Linked DNA regions of Homo sapiens: regions 1, 2, 4, 5 and 6 are each linked to region 3. The links are contacts of gene promoters, found by promoter capture Hi-C in blood cells and fetal thymus (Javierre and others, 2016). All regions are on one chromosome and are shown on one strand. The core of a region is centred on a gene start or on the middle of the fragment in contact, and the rest is flanking DNA. Distances in the headings are between cores, read along the strand shown.

Evidence for each region. Contacts are between HindIII fragments. The CHiCAGO score rates a contact against its expected background, and 5 or more counts as called.
Region 1: a fragment that was not itself captured here is called in contact with the fragment with the promoter of ZNF593 in region 3 in 1 of 17 cell types (erythroblasts); the score reaches 6.0 in erythroblasts.
Region 2: a contact is called between a fragment that was not itself captured here and the fragment with the promoter of ZNF593 in region 3, in 8 of 17 cell types (M2 macrophages, M0 macrophages, M1 macrophages and 5 more). The highest score is 18.2, in M2 macrophages.
Region 4: a fragment that was not itself captured here is called in contact with the fragment with the promoter of ZNF593 in region 3 in 10 of 17 cell types (M0 macrophages, M2 macrophages, monocytes and 7 more); the score reaches 14.9 in M0 macrophages.
Region 5: a contact is called between a fragment that was not itself captured here and the fragment with the promoter of ZNF593 in region 3, in 2 of 17 cell types (endothelial precursors and monocytes). The highest score is 7.2, in endothelial precursors.
Region 6: a fragment that was not itself captured here is called in contact with the fragment with the promoter of ZNF593 in region 3 in 7 of 17 cell types (M0 macrophages, M2 macrophages, M1 macrophages and 4 more); the score reaches 13.9 in M0 macrophages.

The regions. Positions count from the first base shown.
Region 1 is chr1:26,026,552-26,030,818 of GRCh38, forward strand. EXTL1 (exostosin like glycosyltransferase 1) reads left to right here. Exons shown (of 11, transcript NM_004455.3): 2 at 2,642-2,735; 3 at 3,049-3,156; 4 at 3,925-4,044. Among named protein-coding and RNA genes, the nearest start is that of EXTL1, 6.9 kb to the left of the region's middle. RefSeq lists an enhancer at 2,495-3,360. The HindIII fragment of the contact is 8,483 bases long and covers 1-4,267 here.
Region 2 is chr1:26,392,855-26,397,056 of GRCh38, forward strand. No RefSeq gene overlaps it. Among named protein-coding and RNA genes, the nearest start is that of LIN28A, 16 kb to the right of the region's middle. The HindIII fragment of the contact is 2,015 bases long and covers 894-2,908 here.
Region 3 is chr1:26,166,495-26,171,157 of GRCh38, forward strand. It overlaps ZNF593 (zinc finger protein 593), which reads left to right and starts at 3,414. Exons shown (of 3, transcript NM_015871.5): 1 at 3,414-3,689; 2 at 3,924-3,986; 3 at 4,081-4,379. The coding sequence starts at 3,490. The coding sequence ends at 4,222. C1orf232 (chromosome 1 open reading frame 230) reads right to left here and starts at 2,469. Exons shown (of 4, transcript NM_001364669.2): 1 at 1,922-2,469. The coding sequence starts at 2,005. It overlaps ZNF593OS (ZNF593 opposite strand), which reads right to left. Exons shown (of 4, transcript NM_001395468.1): 3 at 4,662-4,663; 4 at 3,027-4,104. RefSeq lists a silencer at 1,795-1,950 and an enhancer at 3,184-3,283. The HindIII fragment of the contact is 4,459 bases long and covers 2,214-4,663 here.
Region 4 is chr1:26,357,097-26,361,798 of GRCh38, forward strand. ZNF683 (zinc finger protein 683) reads right to left here. Exons shown (of 6, transcript NM_001114759.3): 6 at 4,538-4,702. The coding sequence ends at 4,555. Among named protein-coding and RNA genes, the nearest start is that of CRYBG2, 5.3 kb to the left of the region's middle. RefSeq lists a silencer at 1,662-1,956 and an enhancer at 4,575-4,702. The HindIII fragment of the contact is 3,222 bases long and covers 1,821-4,702 here.
Region 5 is chr1:26,313,391-26,317,570 of GRCh38, forward strand. It overlaps a transcript of UBXN11 not described here. Among named protein-coding and RNA genes, the nearest start is that of CD52, 2.5 kb to the right of the region's middle. The HindIII fragment of the contact is 2,240 bases long and covers 1,806-4,045 here.
Region 6 is chr1:26,374,038-26,378,348 of GRCh38, forward strand. It overlaps a transcript of ZNF683 not described here. Among named protein-coding and RNA genes, the nearest start is that of ZNF683, 3.4 kb to the left of the region's middle. RefSeq lists a cis regulatory region at 4,001-4,311 and an enhancer at 4,217-4,311. The HindIII fragment of the contact is 2,591 bases long and covers 1,529-4,119 here.

The DNA of each region.
Region 1 (4,267 bases), core at 1,489-3,988, 140 kb before region 3:
CCAAAGTGCTGAGATTACAGGCATGAGCCACGGCGCCCAGCAGAAAATGTTTTAATATATAATATTGCTTGTTTTTATACCAACACAGTTATCAACTATATTCTTTTTTTATGGCAGGAGAGACTGTGAAGGCCAAAGTGCCTAGTAGGGCACATGGAAGTCACAATGCAGCCCTACCTATGGCCAGGCCCCAGCAGAGCACTGAGGCCATGGGCACAGCCACGCTGACCACCCTTGGGCACTGAGGCCCTGAGTCTATGGCAGGTACCTTACATGGTCACAGAAGCCTAAGACTTCTTCAGTGGTCACCACATAGATGCACAAGTTTCCTCTGTAACACATTCCCTGTTCCCCGCCAAAGGTGCTCATCCAGTCTCTACTTATTTCCCTTTACTGATGGGGAACTCACCACCTCCAAAGACCACCCACTGGCTGCACGCTCAACCAGCTCCATCACTAGAATTTCTGCTGAAATTGACCTCCCAGATACCTGGTCTCTTGGTCCCAGATCTATTCCCTAGTGTCTCACTGAGCATTCGGCAGCACCCACTGAGCTCCCATTCTCCACCAAGCACTCTGCTAGGCCCTAGGGATACTGAGATGAGGGAGGTACAGCCCCATCCTCAAGGAGCTCAGCCTTGTAAGAGAGACAGGCAAGTCAATTGTTTGACACACATTGTTAAGCAGAGAGAGGCTGCACCGGCTGCCTCCCTGGCTCCTCTACTCAAGAGCTGTGTGACCTCTTTGGGCTTCAGTTTTCTCATCTGTAAAATGAGATAATAACAGTGCATACCTCCCCTCCTATCTCATAGAGGTGCTGTGAGAATGAACTGAGTTAATACCTGTAAAGCACTTAGAACAGTACCTGGATCAAAGTACATACTCAATATAGGTTAGCTTGGATCATTACTACTGCAGTCCACTGGGAGGTGGGAGTAGAGAAAGCCATCTCTGGAGAGATCAAGGAGGGTTTCCCAGAGGAGGTGATGTTTCAGCTTAGACATTAAGACAGCGTAGAAGAAGGCCAGGTGTGGTGGCTCATGTCTGTAATCTCAACACTTTGGGAGACTGAGGCAGGAGGATCACTTGAGGCCAGGAGTTTGAGACAGCCTGGGCAACACAGAGAGACCCCATCTCTAAAAAAAAAAAAAAAAAAAGCCAGCACGTGCCTGTAGTCCCAGCTACTCCAGAGGCTGAGGCAGGAGAATTGCTTGATCCTGGGAAGTTGAGGCTGCAGTGAGCTGTGATGGCACCACTGCACTCCAGGCTGGGTGACAGAGCAAGAGCTTGTCTCAGAAGAAAAAGATGAGTAGGAGGACTTCCTCAGGCTGACAAGGCAGGGAGGGGCCCTCCAACGTGAGGGAGAAGGGATCTTAAAGGCACAGAGGATCAAGGGAGGTTAAGGCTCAGTGGTGCAGTTGATTCAGCCTTAACCTAGAGGTTTTCAATTCATTAGAGGTTGACTTAAGGGTGAAGGGGGCTGTACCTGGTTGGCTTCTGCTGTGGCTTTTCATGAGGTGAAGGGTGTCCTGATGCTTACTTGTGGCTTCTTCCAAGGAGGGCCTGGTGGACACTTAAGCATGGAGGGAGGACAAAGAAGGCTGGGGTCCCCTGGAAGACCCCTAAAGCAGCAGCTCTGGGGTGGTTCAGATAACTCAGGGTCAGGAGCTGGCAAATCTCTGCTCTAGTCCCAGCTCCACTCAACCCTATCTGTGACCCTGAGCCAGTCCTTGGGTCTCTCTGGGCCTCAGTTTCCCCATCTGTTCAATGGGGCATGGCCCCGAGGCTGCCTAAGTACTCCCAGGTCTGCTTCTTGGAGGTTCAGGCTCAGAGCCAAACAGGCTGTAACTGAGGAGGGTCCTAGTACCCTCTGGGCCCTAGTCATGAGTCCCACACTGAGCAGGCCTGTGTCCTGGTCCCTCCCTTTATCCCTCCCCTGGCTGGGTTGCAGGCAATGGTCCCCTGGGTGGACAATTGCCAGGCTGGCTCTGAGGAGGCTGGGACTCCTGCCCTCCCCCACAGGCACACACAGCCTGAGTGTGGCCCTGGGCTAGGGTGGTGGAGGGGGTAGGTGGGAGGAACAGAGGGAGCCTGTCCTCTGGGCCAGGGGACCTCTGGGCAGCAGTTTCCTGTGTGGTTCCAGGCTGGGGGCCCAGCCCACCTCATGACAGAGGAGCCTTTCACGGGCCTGGCTTTTAGCATCGGGGAGGGCTGGGCTCAGAGGCCACGCAGGCAAGGGGTGCTGAAAGTCTGCCTGTGGCCGAGTGGGGGAGGGCAGACGTGCATGTCTAAGTCAGGCAGGGCCTCGGAAACATCAGCGTCCGCTGCCTCCCATTTTACAGATGAGGAAACTGAGGCCAGAGAAAGGCAAGGGAGGTGTCTAAGGCCACTGAGGGCAGAGGCAGAGCTAGAATGCAGGGCTCCTGCCTCCTAGTCCAACCACAGATGCGTGGCTGGTGTGATGCTTGTGTTTGTGTTAGTGCGTCAGTGTGCGGCTGTGCATATGCATGAGTGGGTTTACACATTTGGGAGTGTGGGTGTGGGGTGCAGGGGTGTGGGGTTCTCCCATTGAGGGAGCCCAGGGGGCGAAGGTCACTGTCCAGGCTCATGTGTGGTGGGACCTCCCCATGTGCCTCTTTAGGACCCAGCGCCAGGAGACGCTGCCCAATGCCACCTTCTGCCTCATCTCTGGCCACCGTCCCGAGGCTGCCTCGCGCTTCCTCCAAGCCCTGCAGGTACAACCCCAATTTGAGCATCACCCATCCTCTGTCCCCCAGCACTCATGAGCTGGCAGGGTACTCTGGGTCCAGGCCAATGAGAAGGGGCAGTAAGCTGCCTGCTCCTTTACTCCTGGACTCAGGCATGCCTGTGTCCCCATTCACTGCACCCTCTGCAGAACAACCATAACCTCCCCTCCCTGAAAAATCCCATGTTCCTGTCCTCTTTGCCCCTTGCCCCCAACAGCAGCAGCTACTGACTTGGAACTGGGCGGGGGGTGAGTATGTGCAGGGTGGGGCTGGGCTCCCCAGTGACCTCCCCGCCCCCCAGGCCGGCTGCATCCCAGTGCTTCTCAGCCCCCGCTGGGAGCTGCCCTTCTCCGAGGTCATCGACTGGACCAAGGCAGCCATCGTAGCTGATGAGAGGCTCCCACTTCAGGTAGCTCAGAGCCCTGCCCACAGGGTGGGAACTGGACCCAGGACAGGGGAGGGACCTAGAATCCTGGATCGAGGCTGGCCTCAGTCCTCATTCCTATCTGCCTTCTATGGATACTGGTGAATTTCTCCTAGCACCAAGTCTCCCCTCTGGGGCTCCCAGAGGATCTGATGGAGCTAGAGATTCCTAAGGGTTCTGAGAGCAAGTCCTGATCCTCTTCCAGCCTCAGTTTTATCATCTCTACAATAGGATGAGCTAGACCAGACAATCCCCATGGGCCCAGCTCCAATGGCCTGTGACTGCTTAAATACCAATTTAGGGGAAGGCTACAAAAAAATTCAAACTCAGAGCGCCTCCATGGGGACTGGAGTGGGAAAGCAAAACGCATGGCGACTTTTCCATCTGATGAAACTAATTTTGTCCAGCTCTGAAAAATATATGTGTGACCTGCCTTGAATCCCCTGAGAATGGCAGAGGGGGTTAATAGTAATTACCATTTTTTTAATTGAGCCTCTACAATGTACTAAGCAATTAATGAGCAAATACTCAGGTTAAATAGCTCAACCACAGTCACGTGGTTACCAAGTGGCATTCAGACCCAACTCTGTGTGACCCCTGAATGCTTCTTTTTTTTTTTTTTTTTTTTGAGATAGGATCTTGCTCTGTTGCTCAGGCTGGAGTGCAGTGGCACGAATATGGCTCACTGCAGCGTCGACCTCCTGGGCTCAAAATTGCTCTATTACCTGGCACTTTTCTCCCTCTCTGCTCCAGGTCCTGGCTGCCCTCCAGGAGATGTCCCCTGCACGGGTCCTCGCCCTGCGTCAGCAGACCCAGTTTCTATGGGATGCCTACTTCTCCTCAGTGGAGAAGGTCATCCATACCACTCTGGAGGTGAGGGGTCTCACCTGATGGGGGTCCTGGCTCTTGACTCCTGCTTCATCCCTGTCACCTCTCCATACTTCTCTGCCACAGTGTTTGGGGAACCCCCCCCCCTTCCTTGAAGATGGTCCTGGGATGAATCTGAGACTTGGCTGTGAGATTTGGGGCAAGTTTCTTCTCCAATCTTGGCCTCAGTTTCCCCATCTTTAGAGAAGACCGCTGTGGCAAATAGATG
Region 2 (4,202 bases), core at 651-3,150, 220 kb after region 3:
ACCTGTGACTCTCCATATAGTTCCCATCCCTGGCCCCTCCCCCAGCCATGCCCCAAAATGGGGCTGGGGAAGAGTGACAGTTACTTAATGACTCTGAGTCCCACTAGCTCTTCTGGGCAGCCTATGGTCACTGGGGGGCCAAAGGGGACTGAAGCCAAAGTCCAAGTTATTGATCTCTGGCCCCAAAGGTCAGCTTCAGGGGCAGAGGGAGTGGTGTTGCCATGGTGGGAGACTCGAGGGACCCCACAACAGAGGGGCTGTGCTGCAGCCCAGTTTTCACGTCTGCATCCTTAGTGCCCCATGATCCTATACACACACACACACACACACACTCCCACACCCCTCTATCCTGTCTTGCTTGAAATTTCTGCCTGATGGGATGTCTCAGAATAGACTCTTGGGTGTCTAGCCTTTGGGGTGTCTAGGGAGTATAAAAGGAGAGCCTTAGATGGAATTATTTATTTACTACTACCCCCGTCCCCAAGACAAAGCCCTGGGAGTCCATGAACTCTTTGGTGAATCCCATTAAAAAAAACACCAATCTGGTTGTCAGGAAGAAAGGATGGCAACAATTTTTGCTGTGTAGCCTTGACAAAGCATTTACCTTCTATGAGTCTTAGTTCCCTTATCTATAAATGAAGGGATTGAATCAGATGAGCTCTAAGTTCCTTTCCGGATAAGTGACCTAAGATTCTGAGGAATTAGAGGGGACAGGCCTGACAGCAGGGGTTAGGAGTAAGAACTAGGTTAGGTTCGGGAGATGGTAAAAACAAATTCTTGGACTTGGAAATAAAATCTGCATTCTAATTTTGGCCATTATTAACTGTGGAAACTGGGGCAAGTCATGCATTTATTAATTCAACAAACATTTAATAAGCAATTACGTTATCCCAAGCTTTGTGCTGCATACTGACACAATGAACAAAACATAGTCCCTGGCTTATGGGGTTTACATTGTAGTGGTCAGTGGGAAAGAAAGACAAATAAGCAAATATATATAATACAGTGGGACAAATGCTCTGTCACAGATGTGTAGAGCACTATAAAAAATGGGAAAGGGGGCCAGGGGCTGGGACTCACACCTGTAATCCCAGCAATTTTGGGAGGCCGAGGCGGGGGGGGATCACCTGAGGTCAGGAGTTCGAGACCAGCCTGACCAACATGGTGAAACCTCATGTCTACTAAAAATACAAAAATTAGCCAGTCATGGTGGCAGGCGCCTGTAATCCCAGCTACTTGGGAGACTGAGGCAGGAGAATTGCTTGAATCCAGGAGGCAGAGTTTGCAGTGAGCTGGTATCACACCACCACACTCCAGCCTGGGCAACAGAGCTAGACTCCATCTCAAAAAAAACTGAAAAAAAAAAAAAAAAATGGGGAAGGGACTGGGAGCCATGGCTCACACCTATAATCCCAGTGCTTTGGGAGGGAGGAGGATTGGTTGAGGCCAGCAGTTCAAGGCCAACCTGGGCAACATAAGGAGACCTCATCTTTATAAAAATATGTTTTTAATTAAAAAAACAGAGAATAGGGCCAGGCACAGTGGCTCATGCCTGTAATCCCAGCACTTTGGGAGGCCGAGGCAGGCGGATCACAACATCAAGAGTTTGAGACCAGCCTGGCAAACATGGTGAAACCCCATCTCTACTAAAAATACAAAAATTAGCCAGGTGTGGTGGCACATGCCTGTAATCCCAGCTACTTGGGTGGCTGAGGTGGGAGGATTGCTTGAACCCAGGAGGCAGATGCTGCAGTGAGCTGTGATCGCGCCACTGCCCACCAGCCCAGGAGACAGAGCAAGACTCCGTCTCAAAAATAAAAATAAAAGAGAATTAATAGTGATCAGCAAAGTGAAAGTAAGGGAAATGGTGCTTCAGGCAGAGGGGTAATCATGGAGAAACCCTAAGGAGAAAGAGAATCAAGCTATTGGAGGCCCTAGAGCGTGCATTGTGACAGAAGTGAGAAGGGGAAGGACAAGGAGTACAGTTGGCAGTAAGACTGGTACTGGGGGCAGAGATCTGCCTCCTCTGCAAAAATGCGATAACAATGTGCCCACCTAATCTCCCTCTTTTTCTGGCCGCCTTGTTTTCCAGGGTCTAGTGATATAATGAATGGGAAAATACTTTGTGGTCTGAAAAGCACTGTACAAAGTAGTACACAGACACTAGAAAAGAGCTGTGGATCACTGAGGATCAAGCTGGGTAAATCTGGCTTTGGGCTAACTTCCAGAAAAACAGTGGAAAATTAACCAAGATTGAGACATTGAGCCTTTAAAAACCTTAGGTCACAAAACTAGAGAAGATGAGGACTGGAGTTTGAACATAAAACATGACCCCAGAGTCTTTGCAAAAGAGGAAGGGGACTTGTTCTAAGGACCCCAGTGGATAGAAGCTATAGAGACTAGGTTGAATTCAATGGAAGAAATAACTTCTTATTTTTATTTATTTATTTTTTGAGGTGGAGTCTCGCTCTGTTGCCCAGGCTGGAGGGCAGTGGCACGATCTTGGCTCACTGCAACCTCCGCCTCCCAGGTTCAAGCAATTCTCCTTCCTCGGCCTCCCCAGTAGCTGGGATTACAGGCATGAGCCACCACGTTTGGCTAATTTTATTTTTATTTTTATTTATTTTTATTTTTATTTATTTATTTATTTATTTATTTATTTATTTGTATTTTTAGTAGAGATGGGGTTTCACCATGTTGCCCAGGCTGGTCTCGAATTCCTGACCTCAGGCGATCCTCCTGCCACGGCCTCTCAAAGTGCTGGGATTACAGGTGTGAACCACTGCACACAGGCAGAAGAAAGAACTTTCTAACAATCCCAACTATCTGTGGATGGGCAAGGCATTCACAGCAGTAAGTTCCCTGTTGCTGGAAGTTTGCAAGCTGATCTGGACAATGGCTGGTGTCAAGCTTGGAGTATGGGAGAGGGTCAGCTGATCTGCAAGGTCTATTTGACTTTGAGAGTCTTGGAATCAAGGATCTTGGAATGTCCATTCCCTTTGTTCCATTCCCTCTCCTTTAATAGAACAGGAGTGGAGGCTCTTTTCAGAACCTCACGATGCTGCTTGCATTCAGGAGAGGCTGGAACGGAAAATGGACAGCTCCATGCATCTGTCTTTCTGTCATCCTTCCTCGATGGCTGAACCACAGGGACCCAGTGATAAGGAGAGGGAAGGGACAGACTCCTATCATTTGGAGGCCTTGAGTCCGGCATGGCTTCTTCTTTTTTTTTTTTTTTTTTTTAGACACAGTCTCGCTCTGTGGCCCAAGCTGGAGTGCAGTGGCGCGATCTCGGCTCACTGCCACCTCCACCTCCCGGGTTCACACCATTCTCCTGCCTCAGCCTCCCGAGTAGCTGGGACTACAGGCTCCCGCCACCACGCCTGGCTAATTTTTTGTATTTTTAGTAGAGACGGAGTTTCACCGTGTTAGCCAGGATGGTCTTGATCTCCTGACCTCGTGATCCGCCCGCCTTGGCCTCCCAAAGTGCTGGGATTACAGGCGTGAGCCACCGCGCCCAGCCAAGTCCGGCATGGTTTATGTAGAGTTTGGTGTCATCTCAGATGCCATTGCTGAAATGCAGTGTGCCCTAGTGGTTAGGAGCATGAACTGCAGCATGGGACTGACCTGGATGGGTCACTTCCTGTCAGTTACCATGAGCAAATTGTTTAATCTCTGAGACTCTGCTTTCTCATTTTAAAAATGGAGACAATAGGCCGGGCGCGGTGGCTCACGCCTGTAATCCCAGCACTTTGGGAAGCCGAGGCGGGCAGATCACGAGGTCAGGAGATCCAGACCATCCTGGCTAACACGGTGAAACCCCGTCTCCACTAAAAAATACAAAAAAAATTACCCTTGCGAGGTGGCGGGAACCTGCAGTCCTAGCTACTCGGGAGGCTGAGGCAGGAGAACGGCGTGAACCTGGGAGGCGGAGCTTGCAGTGAGCTGAGATCGCGCCACTGCACTCCAGCCTGGGCAACAGAGCAAGACTCCGTCTCAAAAAAAAAAAAAAAAAAAAAAAAAAAAGGAGACAATAGGCCGGGCGGGGTAGCTCACGCCTGTAATCCCAACACTTTGGGAGGCTGAGGCAGGCGGATCACCTGAGGTTGGGAGTTTGAGGCCAGCCTGACCAACATGGAGAAACCTTGTCTCTACTAAAAATACAAAATTAGCTGGGTGTGGTGGTGCATGCCTGTAATCCT
Region 3 (4,663 bases), core at 2,164-4,663:
TAAATAGAGATGGGGTTTTGCCATGTTGGCCAGGCTGGTCTCGAACTCCTGGCCTCAAGTGATCCTCCCACCTCGGCCTCCCAAAGTGCTGGGATTACAGGCGTGAGCCGCCAGTCCGAGCTGCAGACACCCTTGAGCACACATACCTGCCCACCACAGACACATCCATATACACCCAAAAGCACGTGGACATGGGCATGCACTCTGATGTAGACACACACCTGTACATGAGCATGCCCCCACATGGCTACAGCTCTTCACCTGTACATAGACATACGTGTTGTGAAGCACCTATACAAGGACACACACAGTTATATCATTCACACCTGTGCACTTATACAACCACAGACAGCTGCACAGAGGCCTATCCACAACACACAAAACCTCTCCACCCAACCACAGATACCAAAACACATACACCATACAAACAACACCTGCAAATGTCTACACAGAGGCATGCAGGCAGACTGCTACCCAAAATGTTCACACCTTCACATACACTTTCACTGGGGATTCCACCCAGATACTGATCACACCAGTTACCCACTGACATTTCTGCACAAGCCCAGCCTTAGACACCAACCTCTCCAGACATTTAAGAATTCAAACCATTCCCCGCCCCTCTGAACCGATTCCTGCCTCTGCCACATTTTGTGTGATTGTGTGACTGCCACTTATCACAGCCTCCAGACATAAGACTGTCCCTGGTTTCAGAAACTTTGCTGTTGTTGTTTTGAGACAAAGTCTCACCTGTCACACAGGCTGTAGTGCAGTGGAGCCTCGACCTCCCTGGGCTCAAGCAATCCACCCGCCTCAGCCTGAGTAGCTGGGACTACAGGTGTGTGCCACCATGCCTGTCTAATTTTGTATTTTTTTGTTGAGATAGGGTTTCACCATGTCACCCAGGCTGGTCTCGAAATCCTGGGCTCAAGTGATCCTCCTGCCTCAGCCCCCTGAGTAGATGGGATTATAGGTGCCCACCACCATGCCCAGCTAATTTTTGTATTTTTAGTAGAGGCAGGGTTTCGCCATGTTAGCCAGGCTGGTCTCGAACTCCTAACCTCAGGTGATCCACCCTCCGTGGCCTTCCAAAGTGCTAGTATTACAGGCAGAAGCCACTGCGCCTGGCCTGTTTGTTTGTTTTTGAGATGGAGTCTTGCTCTGTCGCCCAGGCTGGAGTGCAATGGCTCAATCTCAGCTCATTGCAACCTCTGCCTCCCAGGCTCAAGCAATTCTCCTACCTCAGCCTCCCAAGTGGCTGGGATTACAGGTGCACGCCGCCATGCCTGGCTACTTTTTTTTGTATTTTAATAGAGACTGGGTTTCACCGTGTTGCCCAGGCTGGTCTTGAACTCCTGAGCTCAGGCAATCCACCCACCTCGGCCTCCCAAAGTGCTAGGATTACAGGCATGAGCCACCGTGCCCGGCCCAGCCTGTTTTTTGTTGTTGTTGTTTGTTTGCTTGTTTTTTGTAATGTCAGAACAAAGCATGGTCTAAGTATGGCTTTGATCTGATGCTGCTGCAGTGACCTTTCTAGTACAGGCGCCACTCCCCCTACCTCTAGTAACATGGGGCTCACTACATCACTCCTACTTCTGCTCCCATTAGAAAGTTGTGTCCAGCTAAGTGTGCCCGTGTGCCTACTGCCCACTGGTCCTAGAAGAATCTCTTCCATGTGGCAGCCTCGAGATCTTTGGAGACAGTGGCCACTCCTCCCATGGTCCCTAAGTCTTTTCTTCCTCAGTTTTCTTGAATGTCCTGGCTTTCTGATGCTGCACCATGGTTTTTACCATCCCTGAATGTGGCATCTGCACAAATGTGGCCCCCCCACCTCCAAGCCTATCCTGTGCCCCACTTCATACTGCTCATTCCTGCTGCCCCTCTGCACATGCTCCACCCACCATGCATGGATGGCACCCACCTCCTCTGCCAGGTCTTCTTCAGATTCCCCACTCAGGGTCTGTAGCACTTTGGACTTGTAGGTTTTCCAGAAGGCCTGGTTCATGGCTGCAGGGGGAAGGGGCCTGGCACGCAAGCACAGGAAGGTGGTGGCTCAGTGGATACCAGTGAGTCTGGCTCTAGGAACTTGGTGAGGCCAAGAGCCTGTCCGAGGGATCCAGTGACTTCATTAAAGATGCACCAGCCTCCCCAGCTGGCACAGTGCCCAGGAGGTGAACCTGATCCAAAGGAGTCGGGGAGTGGGGGATGGAACAAGCTTCTGCCACCTTAGCCCCTTGTCTTGACCCATATTGGCCAAGAATAATGAAGTCATTTGTCTCTAGAGAGGCTTTCTTCCTGGGCCTAGGAGTACTTGAGTTGTTCATCTCTTAGCATGCCTCCAGGAAAATCTTCTTCCATTCACAAAATCCTGAGGTCTGGGACCCACACTGGAGCCCCTGTGACTGTAGTCATACTAGTTGTGTCCTCAGCAGGGCTCCACCCTGTGTCCCTACTTAGCCTCAATGAACTGGAGCAGGAAGGTCCGCAGGCCCCCAGTGGGCACCTTGGGCTTACATTTCACTCCTTTGTCTGGGCTGGAAACTGATTCCTCTCCCCAGGGATACACGTGCCTGTCTCCTTGTTTCCTGGCAACAGACTCCAAAGAGCTGGAGCCCCTGAATTATTGCTAAGCTCCTCTGGCCCCTTCCAGCTGAGTTGGCTCTGGCCAGCCTGGGAGGCACCAGGCTCCTGTGAATGGGGAAAGGCCCTCTAGCCACTCTGAGCATGCAACACCTAGGCCTTTGCTGCCAGCCCACCTCTGGGAGCCCAGGGCTTAGAGAAAGGAGGCAAAGATGGAGAGGTCCTTCTATGAGTACTTGTGAGAGGAACTGATCCCTCTGGAGTCTGGATGCCTGAGGACTGCACTCTCTGGGGAGGAACACCCTTCACGGATTTGGTTGGGGTCAGAGAGAGGATGGAGACTCAAGGGAATAACGGGAGCCCGGAGAAGTGAGGGCTTTTTCAGGGACTGGAGATTATCTCGGGAAGCCCTGGTGGGGCTGGGATTCCAAACTTATTCACTCTCAGTCATTTACTAATTTATTCATGACACAGACATTTATCAGTGCTTTCCAGAGATAAAGCATCCCACCCCCACCGCGGAGTCCAAGGTCTGGGAAACAGGAAGGGATGACAGGAGTACAGGTTGGCACTGATACTGGTTGGACCAGGCCAGGAAGAGCAGGGCAGCAAGACGGCCCCGAAACCCCCAGGCGCACGCACCACCCCGCGCCTCCCCAGCGAGGGCCCGCGGGGCCATGCCCTTCAGTGGGCACACTTCTGGGAGCCCGTCCTGAGCTCGGTCACTGACGTCGACGGCCGCCTGGCGGCGCTCGAGCCGCTGGCCGAGAGTGACGTCATCAGAGGCGGTCCGGCCGAGCCTGCCTAGCCCCCCGGCGTGGCCTGACGTAGCTGATCGGCCCGGAAGTGCTCACACGTGTGCTCCCTGCCCTGCTCCTGGCCCCTTGGCCGGCCGGGCTGTTTCTGGCCATGGGTCGCTCCCGCCGGACAGGCGCGCACCGAGCGCACTCTCTAGCCCGGCAGATGAAGGCGAAGCGGCGGCGGCCGGACTTGGATGAGATTCACCGCGAGCTGCGGCCTCAGGGATCCGCACGACCCCAGCCCGACCCAAACGCCGAGTTCGACCCCGACCTGCCAGGGGGCGGTCTGCACCGCTGTCTGGCCTGCGCGTGAGTCCCGGACGAGCCCGGCCTGGGGCGGAGGAGGGTCCGCGGTACCGGCCGGGAGATGTGAAGTTGAAGCCCCAGGCAGCGCAGAGTCTTCTCTCTTGGGACCCGTGGGTCCGCCCGCCTCCCGTTTCTCAGACCCGGATCCTGGCGTCAGGGACAAGCTAGGGCTAGGGAGATAGGTGCACTTGGGAGACTATCACCTCCTCACTCTCCTTCTCACTTCCATTCCTACAGGAGGTACTTCATCGATTCCACCAACCTGAAGACCCACTTCCGATCCAAAGACCACAAGAAAAGGTATGAAGGAGTAAGGAGAGGATTGATGGATGGGTGCTCAGCAGATAGGGCTCTCACCTGGTCAGCTCCCAACTCCTGTTTTTCTTTCTCCCAGGCTGAAGCAGCTGAGCGTCGAGCCCTACAGTCAGGAAGAGGCGGAGAGGGCAGCGGGTATGGGATCCTATGTGCCCCCCAGGCGGCTGGCAGTGCCCACGGAAGTGTCCACTGAGGTCCCTGAGATGGATACCTCTACCTGACATGGCCTGAAGATGCAGGGCAGAGGAATTGCCCATGGACAGTGACGCAAGGACTAGGCTGGGAGGGAGCGTGCCAACCCCTTTTGCCTCTGGGTTTGGGGAGCGGAGGGCCTCTTCTTGGTGCCCTGCCCCAAATAAAGGAACTGGACAAAGAGAACTTGCCTCCAACTCTAACTTCCAGGCCGCTGTCTCAAACTCCTGCCCTGGAAGGGCTTCTCTACTACTTTCTGTACACCAGGCCTAGGGTGTCTACTCCCCACTTGGTCTATCTCTGCCTTCCCTCTGAGGTCCTAGCATCTGAACTGGAGCACCCAGATGGAGGCCTGATGCAGTGTGGGGTGGCGGGAGTGGGATCAGATTACTCTGTCCTGCTTCTGACAGAGACTGATCCCCAGAAAAGAAGGCTTCTGAGATTGCACCCCCCTCCCGAGTCACCTACCC
Region 4 (4,702 bases), core at 2,182-4,681, 190 kb after region 3:
GGGTCAGAGGCCCCTGCCTCGGTACCGGGTTCCCATTCCCAGGGCGGGTGAGATCGGAGAGCAAGTGTAGCATGGCCAAGAATCATCACTCCAGCCCTGCAGATTGCCTGAGCAACCCCTCCTGGCCCTCCCCACCCCTGACTCATTTGCACCTCCAAGTCCAGAGAGGGAGGGGCAGTGCCGCCTGGGCCTATAGGGCAGGTTTCTGCCAGACAGGGTAAAGGGGGAGGGCGTGTCTTCCAGGCGGGGGCGGGCAGGGCACTGGCAGGGTGTGGACACCCCAGGGCACCCAGGCTTCCAGGCATAGGGTGACTGGACCTTCCTCTCCTCTCTCTTTAGGGTGACAGAGCAGCACAAATCCCTGCCCTCATTTTGCCCCCACCACACCCCCAGTCCCCCTGGCGCAGGCTGAAGACACCTGTGCCATGATAAGATCAGAACAAATTGCCGGGTAACTGGGCAGACACATAAACACCCATGCGTGAGAGCACACCCTATGCTCTTCACGGATGTAGGACCGGGGAGCTGTGGGGCTCTCGGATTCTCAATACTGCCTTCCCTGCCTTTTGACTTGGCCTTCCACAGGATGTTTTTCCTTCTGTTTAAAACATTTTAAAGTTTTAAAAGAGCACAAGGGGCCAGGCGCGGTGGCTCACGCCTGTAATCCCAGCACTTTGGGAGGCCGAGGCGGGCGGATCACTTAAGATCAAGAGTTCGAGATCAGCCTGGTCAATATGGTGAAACCCTGTCTCTACTAAAAATACAAAAATTAGCTGGGCGTGGAGGCACGTGCTTGTAGTCCCAGCTACTCAGGAGGCTGAGGCAGGAGGATCACTTGAACCTGGGAGGCAGAGGTTGCAGTGAGCCGAGATCATGCCACTGCACCCCAGCCTGGGCAACAGAGTGAGACTCCCATCTCAAAAATGAAACAAAACAAAACAAAGCAAAACAAAAAAAGAGCACAAGGGACTGGGTCTGGTAGCTCAAACCCATAATCCCAGCACGATGGGAGGCCAAGCCAAATCAGTAGAGCTCAGGAGTTTGAGACCAGGCTGAGCAACATAGCCAAATTCCAACTCTACAAAAAATAAAAAGATTGGGTGGACATGTTGGCATGTTCCTAGCTACTTGGGAGGCTGAGGCAGGAGGAGTTTGAGGATGCAGTGTCCTATGATAGTGACACTGCATTCCAGCCTGGGTGACAGAGCAAGACCCTGATTCTATTAAAAAAAAATTTAAAAAAATCAAAAGAAAAGAGAGCCAGGTGCAGTGGCTCACACCTGTAATCCTGGCACTTTGGGAGGCTGAGGTGGGCAGACTGCTTGAGTCCAAGAGTTCGAGATCAGCCTGGGGAACATGGTGAAACCTTGTCTCTACAAAAAATCAGCCCGGCGTGGTGGCATGTGCCTGTAATCCCAGCTACTCAGAAGGCTGAGGTGGGAGGATCACCTGAGCCTGGGGAGGTCAAGGCTGCAGTGAGATGCGATAGTGCCACTGCACTCCATCCTGGGCAACAGAGCAAGATTCCATCTTAAAAAACAAATAAGTAAATACATAAAGGATATAAGAGCACAGGGAGCATTCCACATTAACATCCAAAATCGTGGTACATTGATACACATATTTTTATGCTTCAAGATACTCATACACACTTATTTGATCAACCACAACACTCTAACACACACACACACAACCCCTCAGACATCAGCTACCAGTGCACGGGCTCAGAGAGGTGAAGCAATCTGCTCAGGGTCATATAACCAGTGGCACCTACAGCTAGGAGCCGGGTCTTGCAGTCTGGCAGTCCCTGCAGGCAACAAAGCTTCAGAAATGTGGGCTCTGAAGTCAGACTGCCAAAGCCTGTGTCCCAGCTACACCACGCCCCAGCTGTGTGGCTTTGGGCAGGTGACGTCACCTCTCTGAACCTCCATTTCCTTATCTGAATCATGTGGAATACCTGCTTCATAGGGCTGCTGTGAGGATTACGTGAGATAATCCAGGTGAAGTATGAAGCATGTGGCAAATAAAGGCTTATTGTTATTACAATCTAGAGCTATCTCCAGGGGTGGGGACGACAGGGGAAAACCTCTCCGTGGCATCTAAGTGCAAATGCAGTACAGTCTCAGACGGAACCTGTCAGGTTCATGACAAAGGGATATGAAGAAATCAGCTGTGATGCGAGAATCAAAGTCCATAGGGGAGGGAAGAACTACTGCCTTTGCCCTTAAACTGTCTCTGTCGTCTGCAGGCTACCTGCCTGACTTAGGAAACTGTCCACATAAGTTGTAAAGTTTTAAAAGAGCACAGGGACCATTCCACATTCACATCCAAAATCGTGGTACATTCACACACACACACACACACACACGTGTGTGTGTGTGTATACATATATATTTTTTTCTTCTTCTTCTTCTTCTTTTTTTTGGAGACGGTGTCTCGCTCTGTCGCCAGGCTGGAGTGCGGTGGCTCGATCTCGGCTCACTGCAACCTCTGCCTCCCGGGCTCAAGCGGTTCTCCTGCCTCTGCCTCCGGAGTAGCTGGGACTACAGGAGTGCGCCACCACACCCAGCTAATTTTTGTATTTTTAGTAGAGGCGGGGTTTCACCATGTTGTTTGGCCAGGATGGTCTCAATCTCTTGACCTCGTGATCCGCCCGCCTCGGACTCCCAAGACACATATATTTTTATGCTTCGAGAGATACACATACACGCTTATTTGATCACTACTCTCTCTCTCTCTCTCTCTCTCTCTCTCACACACACACACACACACACACACACACACACACACGGTCTAGGGCCCAGAGGCTCCCCACGCGGCCTTTCTCCATCTCTCCTCACCTCTCCCGGGATGTGGCCTCCGAGATCTCTTTCCCTCTGTGCTCCCTCCGGACCCCTAACCCAGCCAAAAGGTGGGCCAGGCAGGCCCCCGGGCCTCCGCACCGCTCGGCCATGGCGAGTGAAAGACCCGGGGCTCCGGCCGTCGGAGCACCTGACCGCCGGGGCTACCCGCATCCGCTGCATTTGCGGAGAAATGCCTCCTCCGGCCCGCCCCCCTAGCAAACAGCGGCCCCACCCGCAGCCCATGCGGGCGGTGACCCGATCCAGATGCTGCCCGTGCCCTGGGGCACTCTCCAGGACCCCCAACCTCATTGTTCTCCTCGGACCGCAGACCCCAGACGTTCGGCAAGAGCCCTTGCCCCCACCCCGGGGGCGTGGTTCTCCGCCCGGTCCGCGCTACATCTTTAAGCCCCTGGAGGCGCCAGGGCCCCCCGCAGCCCCAGGTGAGCTAGCCCGAGAGCAAGACCTGCATGAGGCCGGACAGGGAAAGTGGCCTGGGGCGAACAGAGGCGGGGAGGCGGGGCTGAGCGAGCGAGGGGGATCCCCCAGGAGCAGGAGGAGCTGGGCAAGGGGGGCGGTTGCGGGGAGGGGTGGATGGTTCGGAATGGGCGTGGTCTTGCCGAATGGGAGGGTCTAACGCGAGTGGTTGGCGTCCCGCGCGGGGCCCAAAGTGTGACACGGGTGGGCTTGGAACCGGGACCTTAGCTACTGGTGGGGCTGAAGCCCACCCTGCCATTGTTCTGCCACGGTCAGTGGGGCTTGCTCCTCCCTATGGGAAGCACTTACGGCCGGGAGCGGGAATCCCGTCACCACCGCGGTGGGGAAGCCGCACGGAAATCCACGGGGTGCGGACGGTGCCATCTCCTGGAAGTTGGCCAGAGAACCCCACTCTGTCCGCAAATCGCTCTTATTTAATAACAACTATCATCGATTGTGATCCTAACCTGGGCCTCCTGCCTCCCAGGCAATACCCTTTTCCGCCTGGCGCGGCCTCTCTGACTCGAGTGGGGATGGGGAGCACCTTGTACATTTCAGAGGATCCTCCGGGCCTACAGGGAGAAGGGCCATCAGGCCTCAGCTCCCCAGGGTCTCTGCCAGTTCTTCTCTGCCTGTAGCCCTTATCTGGCTGCAGCCTCCACGCCTTCCCTGAGCCTGGCACCCTGTTAGCCCAGAGTGTTGTGGTAACTAGACCCGGTTGACAGAGGACATCATGCTTCTGGGTCGTGAGTGGACCCTGATATCTCGAGTCTCCTTCTTCAATAGACCCACAATGAGGGGCACCCTCCCCCTCCACCTCGCAACGACCATGCAGGGAGTACCGGCTGAGGTGCAAGTGGCCAATAGGAACGGTGAGACCCAGGCAGTGGGGGCAGCGGGACCCTCTGCACAGGTGTTGGGAACAGGACAATGTGCCCAGGCTGGACAGCACGGTCGGCACCCTGCAGCGCGCTGGAGGGCTGGACTGTCCGTCGGTGAATAGACGAGGAGAGCCTGGTCCTAGACGGGGAGTGGAACTCAAGCCTTGCTGAAGCAGATGGCTGCAGGCAAGCACCGCACACACAGGCAGCACAGGCTCTTCCTGGCTGAGTCCCCTGACCTGCTCCCGGGTGAAGTGTGAGGTCTGGCAAACACAGTGGCTTTCCCCCATTACCCCCACCCCACACCTAAACTGTTGAAGCTCAGGAAGCCTCAAAGCATGACAGAAGAAACATTTTTAATTGTTCTGGTCCTGCCCCATCACCAGGGGAGTCCCGGCACTGCTCAGGCTCACTGCTCTTGCTTTCCCCTGGGATGTCGAGGACACTTTGACCTCATCTATGTCATAGCCCATGTGTTTCTCAGATGCCACCGCCATAAGATCT
Region 5 (4,180 bases), core at 1,676-4,175, 150 kb after region 3:
CACTGACCTAGAATATATCCTCCCCACATTTCACTTCTTCTTCTTCTCACATTACCCCCTTGATTTCCTGATGCCATTTGTGAACATCTGAAATTACCATTGTTTTTTATTAGTCTTCCCCCACTCAAATATCAGCTCCATAATAGCAGGGACCATGTCTTTATGTCACTGTTGTATTCCCAGTGCCTAGTTCAGTACCTGGTACACAGCAGGCACCCAATAAACACATTCTGCTCTAATAATACTTTCTTACGATCTTTACTTCACTTCACTAATTTTCTCTTCAGTTGTGCCCAATCTGATGTTAAACCTATCCACTGAGTTCCTAATTTTTATTACCATATTTCTCAGTTCTAGAATTTCCATTTGGTTCTTTACTATAATTTTTTTTCTTTTTTTTTTTTTTTTGAGACTTAGTCTTGCTCCATCGCCCAGGCTGGAGTGCAGTGGCACGATCTCGGCTCACCACAAGCTCTGCCTTCCAGGTTCATGCCATTCTCCTACCTCAGCCTCCCGAGTAGCTGGGACTACAGGTGCCCGCCACCATGCCTGGCTAAGTTTTTGTATTTTTAGTAGAGATGGGGTTTCACTTTGTTAGCCAGGATGGTCTCGATCTCCTGACCTTGTGATCGACTCGCCTCGGCCTCTCAAAGTTCTGGGATTACAGGTGTTAGCCACCGCGCCCGGCCGGTTCTTTACTATAATTTCTAGTTCTCAATCTTGTCCTGCTGCTCAGAGGGCAGAAGAGGAAAATGTCTTTAAGTAAGCATAGTTATTTGAAAATTTGATTGATTATTCCATTATCTGGATCTTTTGTATAACTTTCTATTATCTGTTTCTGCTTTTTGGTCATGTTGTCTTCAATTTCTTTGAGGGTTGGGCTGTTGTTTCCTGTTTACTCTCACTCCCCGTGGTCCAACCCAAAGCCTAGGTGGGGGGAGTTTGTCAGGGCTCCCCTTTCTTAGAGAATCTAGAACTATAGTTTTTCTCCCATACATTTGTAAGTATGTGAAGATGAGAAAGCTCAGCTCAGTTTCTCAGCTGTCCCCTCTGCAAGTGGCATACTTTTAGGAGGAAAGCAGCTCCATATAAAGGGCTTGCTTCTCTCAGTCCCTTATTTCTTTTCTGCATTGGTAACTTTTCAGTACTGACTTTACTGTTGCCCCATAGTAAATATTTACTGGATGAATAAATGCAGGACTACTAGGCTCGGAGGTGGGAATAGATCTAGATGAATACACGCACTCATTCTTCCGGCAGTCCCTGACACCTACACTGTGCCATGTTCTGTGCTTCGCTGAGTAAGAGAAGTGACAAAATCTAGTCCCAACCCACAAGGGACAGACCATATTCTTGGTAGACACAATCTTTAGAACAGAGGTCAACAGAAAGGGCCCTTCGAACATTTAGGAACTTTGAGTTTCCTAGGGAAAGTGGAAAGTTTCCCTGGGGAAGGGGCTTCTAAGCTAAATCTTGAAGAATAAAGAAGAGTTTGCAGTCTGGGCAACATAGCAAAACTCCACCCTCCACCACCCCAAAAATTAGCTGGGCATGGTGGCATGCACCTGTAGTCCCAGGTACTTAGGAGGATGAGGCGGGAGGATTGCTTGAGCCCAGGAGTTCGAGGTTACAGTGAGCTATGATTGCACCACTTGTACTCCAGCCTGGGTGACAACGGCAAGAACCTGACTCGAGGGGAAAAAAAAAGAGTTTGCCAGGTAAAATAATTGGAGAAGGGCTTTCCTTGCAGAGGAAATACATGGACTGTAGAAGATACTCCTCAGGGTGTCAGGAGGTGAAAATGAAGCTTCTGAGGTTTGCAAGAAAATGTTTACAAATAAGAGTCTGGCATTTAGTATCCTCGCATGCATCTCCAGCATGGGAAACTATAACACGGCTGGCCCCAGGCTCGTCCTGTCTGGCTGCCTCTTTGTAAGAGGGGAGAAGATTGCACAGTGTGATGGAGCTCATTTTCAGCAGAGTAATCTCAGACTTCAACACGGGTATCCTGTCTTCTGGGCTGGTGCCCTTCTGGCACAGGACACCTCCCTGACTCTCATGAACCCCAGAATCACTCACCCCCACAGGCACACCAAAGACAGCTGAGAACTTGAGTCAAGGGTGAGGAGAGACCTCTGGGTGAAAGGGCAGGGATGGGGAAAGAGGGTGATGGATGGCTGGGGACTCCTCCCTCTTCTCTCCCTCCCCGCCCCTCCCTCTCCACTTCCTGGCTTTCTCTCATCAGCTTTGACTCTCAGTTCTTCTTTTCTTCTCTTCTCTTTTTTTGAAATGGAGTTTTTCTCTTGTCGCTCAGGCTGGAGTGCAATGGCACGATCTCGGCTCACTGCAACCTCCTTCTCCCGGGTTCAAGTGATTCTCCTGCCTCAGCCTCCCGAGTAGCTGGGATTACAGGCATGTGCCAGCACACCTGGCTAATTTCTGTATTTTCAGTAGAGACAGGGTTTCACCATGTTGGCCAGGCTGGTCTAGAACTCCTGACCTCAGGTGATCCACCCACCTCGGCCTCCCAAAATGCTGGGATTACAGGCGTGAGCCACTGTTTCCTGGCCTTTTTTTTTTTTTTTTTGAGACAGGGTCTTGCTCTGTCACCCTGGCTGGAGTGCAGTGCCACAATCATGGCTCATTGCAGCCTGGGCCTCCCAGGTGCAAGCAATCCTCCTGCGTCAGCCCCCAAGTAGCTGAGACTATAGGTTTGTGCCACTATGCCCGGCTAATTTTTTTTTTTTTTTTTTTTTTTTTTGAGAGATGGGGCCTTCCTATGTTGCCCGGGTGGTCTCAAACTCCTGTGCTCAAGTTATCTGCCCGCCTCAGCCTCCCAAACTGCTAGGATTACAGGCGTAGCCCCTATGCCCAGCCTCTGTTTTTTTCTTTGGACTCAGCCTCAGCCAGATCTCCCCTGGGCTTGCAACACAAGGCCCAAAACAATAGAAGAGAAGTGAGGGGAGTTTTCCCTTTACTACCTAGCATGTAAATGAGGCCTAAAGTAGACTAAGGAAGGGAGAGTGTGAAGGGAGAGTGGGCCAGAGCTGGGGTTGTGGTGACCAACTCCTGGGGCCTGGGGGGAGTTTGTGTAGGGGAGGGGGAGGGAGTGGCAGGGAATCAAGACTTAATGGATGAATTCTAGGGCAGCCCCAGAGGTTACATACATGGCTGTGGCTTCAGACAGACCTGGATTCAAGGTCAAATGAGACTGGCTCCACCATTTACGACCTTAGCAAGTCACTTAACATCTAAGCCTCAGTTTTTTCACCAGTCAAATGGGGATAAACATAACACCTGCTGCAGGGCACCACAGAGGGTATCAAGTGAGGGAATGCATAAAGCATGGAGCACTATCCAGGCAGCTGTGGGATTCCTCTCATCCCCCCACCCCTCCCTGGGCCCTCACAGCCACTCTCTCACCCCAGTCCCCTTCCACTGTAGCTTAGTCACCCACTTGTCCCTTCCCTCGCTCCCCTCCCATTCATCCTCAGCTAATACAAACAACCCATCTGCTTGCTACTTTCTCTACCAAAATCACAAAATTCTAGGTCTTGGCTGGGCGCGGTGGCTCATGCCTGTAATCCCAGCACTTTGGGAGGCCGAGGCAGGCGGATCACTTGAGATCAGGCATTCGAGACTAGCCTAGCCAACATGGTGAAACCCAGTCTCCGCTAAAAAAAAAAAAAAAATACAAAAAATTAGCCAGGCATGGTGGCACACACCTGTAGTCCCAGCTATGCGGGAGGCCAAGGCAGGATAATTGCTTGAACCCAGGAGGTGGAGGTTGCAGTAAGCCGAGATCATGCCAGTGCACAGAGCAAAACTCTGTTTAAAAAAAAAAACAAAAAAACCAACAACAACAAAACAAAACACTAGGTTTTAACAAACTTCAGAAATAATCTATTTCAGTCTTCCCAGTTCCTTGAAATGAGGAACTGAGGCCTAGAGAGGGAAAGCCCAACTGAAACCAGGCTTCCCGATTCCTCACCTCCAGCACCTTCACAGAAATCCACCAACCCTTCCACAATCTAAACATTTCCCAAGCTTTCATTCAGAACCTGCAGCCCATCTACAACCTTCCCTTGAAACATAAATCTATCCCAGCCCTTCTCCTTCAGCTCCTATACCCTGCCCCAATCTTCTTTAAACAACAAACTCATTTACGGAATATCTGCTA
Region 6 (4,311 bases), core at 1,574-4,073, 210 kb after region 3:
TTCTTGCTCTCTCTTCCCACATGCTGTTCCCAGTCCTTCCCCCAACTCCTCAGTGGCCCCCTCAGTATCCTTCAGCGTAATGGAGGGGCTTAGTTCACCAAAACTCTACTCCCTAAAAGGAAGAGCCCTCTCAGACCCCCAGGCCACAAGCCCGCCTCCCCTGCTGTCTTGCTGGGAATCACAGGGAAGTGAGGGGCACCGAGTGAAGTTTCCTCCCCTCCAAGGCACTTCCCCACACACCTTTGGCTTCCATCTGCCAGCTGTGCTCCCTCCTGGCATCACACTCTGCTCCCAGCTCTCAGAACACTTTGCACAACCTCTCTGTTAGAAAAAAATAAAAAAGGAAATGGCCTTGGAGATTTCCAGGTCTCCAATCCTGAAAGCTCCCTGGCTTGGCTAGGAAATGCCCCAGGAGGTGGGCTGAGGACAGACTCCCTCAGGTTCCCACGTGGAGAAGCCTCTGCCTGCCAAGCCCTTCCTTGCTGTCATCTCCCAGATCATCTGTCTTGTGTCATCCATGCCCTGTGATGTCACAGGCCTAAATGTGATGTCACTTTGTCCCACATGCCCTGGGGAGGTAGCACAGAGGGAGGACCATGGTCTTCTAACTGAGGAACCTGAGCAGATGCCTTGACCCAGACCAGAGACCCAAGCCAAGGAAAGCCCATGATCACCAGAGTGGGTTTGGGAAGTGCGGACAGAGGGGGAGTAGGGAGCTGACTCCAGGTGCAAGGGGCACATTCGGGAGGCCTCTGAAGAGGAGGTGCCTCCACATTAGGGGACAAGAGCTGGAGGGGCTGGGTCCTTGGGCTCCCGGTGCTCACTGCACACTTTCTTCTTCCTTTCGTTAGTTGCAAAATAATACATACTAGTGGTAAACATTTCAAACAACAGAAAATGTAAAAACGAAAAATGGAAGCTCCTCCTCCTTCGCAATTTCCCAGTGGTCAATGTGAATTGTTTAGTGTTTACCCTTCCAGACATTTTTCTATGAACCAACAAACAGGTAAATTGATTTTTTTAATTGCTTTTTTTTTTCCTAAGGAATGAAGTGACTTATTGAAAATGAAAGTACACTCTGCAGTGTGGGAGCAGGCCTGAGCATAGGGGCTCAAAGGCCCCATTACAGAGTTTTTGAGAGTTTAAATACCTTCTGCTTGTGGTACGCCCTATGTAAATGAAGAGAATGAAGTAAAGTTACAATGTCATGTACTCAGGGAGAAGCTATTTCCTGTCAGAGCTGAAGTGTGAATTGGCCTTATGTTTCCTGCCTCCAGCCCCTATTTTCCTGCCTCATCTCCCCGCTAAGAGATGTGATTGTGGTCCCCGTAAATCTTCACGGGAGGCAGAGGGACCGATGGTCTTTTTCCTGGGACTGCTTCATGCTGGCATGGGGCGTAGTCCCTACTTATTGGGGATCATGGAACCCTCACCTTGTTCTGTCTAGTGGAGGCAGGGTAGCTTCTTGATGGCCAGGGGTGGTGTCTTCACCTGGACTGGCTGGAGCCTTTGTTGCATGATCATCTGAAGCTTGATGGCCTCCTTTTGCTGGTATGCCAGGTTTCTGGGCTCTCTTTCCCTGAGCGGCCCTTCCTCCGGGCTGGCTGGCCAAAATATGTCACTGGTGGGGGGTGTCCAGGTTCTTGGCATCTTGAACAAAGAATTGGACAAAAAGCAGAAACAAAGCAACGAAGAAATGAAGGGATTTATTGAAAATAAAGTACACTCCACAGTGTTGGAGTGGGCCTGAGCATAGGGGCTGAAAGGCTAAATTGTGTTTTATACAAACATGGGAATATATTGATGCACATTGCTCTTCCGGGTTTTCTTTTCTTTTCTTTTCTTTTTTTTTTTTTTTGAGACAGAATCTGACTCTGCCTCCCAGGTTGGAGTACAGTGGTGTGATCTTGGCTCACTAGCAACCTCTGCCTCCTGGGTTCAAGCAATTCTCCTGTTCAAGCTGGGACTACAGGCATGCGCCACCAAGCCCAGTTAATTTTTTTGTATTTTTAGTAGAGACGGGGTTTCACCACATTGGCCAGGCTGGTCTCAAACTCCTGACCTCAAGTGATCCACCCACCTTGGCCTCCCAAAGTGCTGGATTACACTTTGGGAGCCACCATGCCCAGTCTCTTCTGGGTTTTCTAATAATCCATTGTGGGCATCATTTCATGCCCTGAACATACCTATCTGCCTCCTGCTTTTTCCTGACTATATAATGTTCCATTGCAGGGTTGTGCTTAATATGTAGCCTTCCCCTGTTGGTGGACATACGGGTGGGATCCAATTTTCCCCTTTCTACACAAGGCTGGAAAAGACCTCCAGACAGAGTCAGTATGCGGAATGGTTAAGAATACGAGCTCTGCTGGATTTAATCCCAACTGGGTAAACTTATGGCAAATCACTTAACCTCTCTGTGCATCTTTCCTCATCTGTCAAATGGAGATAATAATAGCACTTGCCTCATAGAATTATTTCCAGGTTTCCTCAAGATAATCCATGTAAAGCCCTTAGGATGGTGCCTGGCCCAAAGCAAGCACTTGACCAATGTGGATGACTATATTGTACATTACCCTTTACCTAGTTAGGCAAGCATCTGCAAGTCAGCTTCTTAAAAGTGTTAAAATTTTGATGGTTATTCCTGACCCATTTTGGAAGATCGAAATTTGGGCAGCACAATTGGAGAGATTAACTACATTTAGTTTTCTTGCTTTATTTATTGACCCTTCCCTGGTTGGGGATCATTGCTCTCATTCAATGCAGTCTTCTCCTACCCCATCCACACACCACAATAATAATAGCTCTTGGCATGGGAGCCCTCATTATATGCCAGGAACCATGCAAAGCCATTCCACACGCTTTGTCTCACTGGATCAGCAGAGTGACTCTGGGAGATGAATGCCATTATTCCCATTTTAGAGGCAAGAAAACTGACACTCAGATAAGGAAAATGACTCACTTAAGATCAGATGACCTGGCTGGGCGTGGCTCATGCCTGTAATCCCAGCACTTTGGGAGGCCGAGGCGGGTGGATCACCTGAGGTCAGGAGTTCAAGACCAGCCTGGCCAACATGGTGAAACTTTGTCTCTACTAAAAATACGAAAATTAGCCGGGCATGGTGGTGGGTGCCTGTAATCCCAGCTACTTGAGAGGTTGAGGCAGGAGAATCGCTTGAACCTAGGAGGCGGAGGTTGCAGTGAGCTGAGATCGTGCCATTGCACTCCAGCCTGGGAGACAAGAGCAAAACTCAGTCTCAAAAAAAAAAAACCAAAAAACACCACATGACCCCAAAGTGGAAAGCATAGAAACAGAGAGTAGAAAGGTCTTTACCAGGGGCAGGGGCCTGGGGTGTAAGGGAAATGGGAGATGAAGGTCAAAGGGTACAAAGTTGCAGTTACTTAGAATGAATAAGTCTAGAGCTGTAACATACAGCATGAGGATTATAGTTAGTAATATTATATAGTAGACATTTGCTAAAAGTAATTTTAGGTACTTTTACCGCACACACACACAAAAGGTAACTGTGAGGTGATGGATGTGTTAAATTGCTTGACTGTAGTAATCACTTTACTGAGCATATGTGTATCAAAACATCATGTTGTAGATCTTAAATATATACAATTTTAAAAGAAACACATGACCCAAGTTGAGGTTGTAAGTCCCAGAGGTGAGGGAGAGCTTAGGGAAGACTTTCCAGGCATTTGAAGAAGTAAAAAGTGCCACAAATATGTTTGGTAGAAGGGGCTCCCAGAAAAATTAAGACAAACAGAGGCCATCTTGAAACGAGCTGCAGAATTAGCATCTGGTACCCTGCAAGAACGTCATTCATTCACATATTTATTTGCCTTTTCTTTCTTCCTTCCTTTCTTTCTTTCTTTCTTTCTTTCTTTCTTTCTTTCTTTCTTTCTTTCTTTCTTTCTTTCTTGTTGTATTTTGGTAGAGACAGGGTCTGGCTGTGCTGACCAGGCTAGTCTCAAACTCCTGCCCTCAAACAGCCTCCCAAAGTAATTCACATATTTATTAATTACCAGCTATGTGTCAGGCATTGGACTATTTTCTGGGAATACAGCCCATAGAAATATGACTCAGACCTTGGAATTACATTCCGGCTATCAAGAAGCTTGCTGGATGTTGTGAAATGGAAAGTAATGTACATCTGAGCTTATTATTAGGAGGGTAGGGGCTGGAGGAGCAAAGTAGAACTGGGGGTGGGGTTGGCTGACTCATGCACCAAGAAAGGGAGACAACGGAACCACAGCCAGAAGCCCCACTTCCTCCCTGAAAACCTTAAAAACTTCTTCAACCCATAT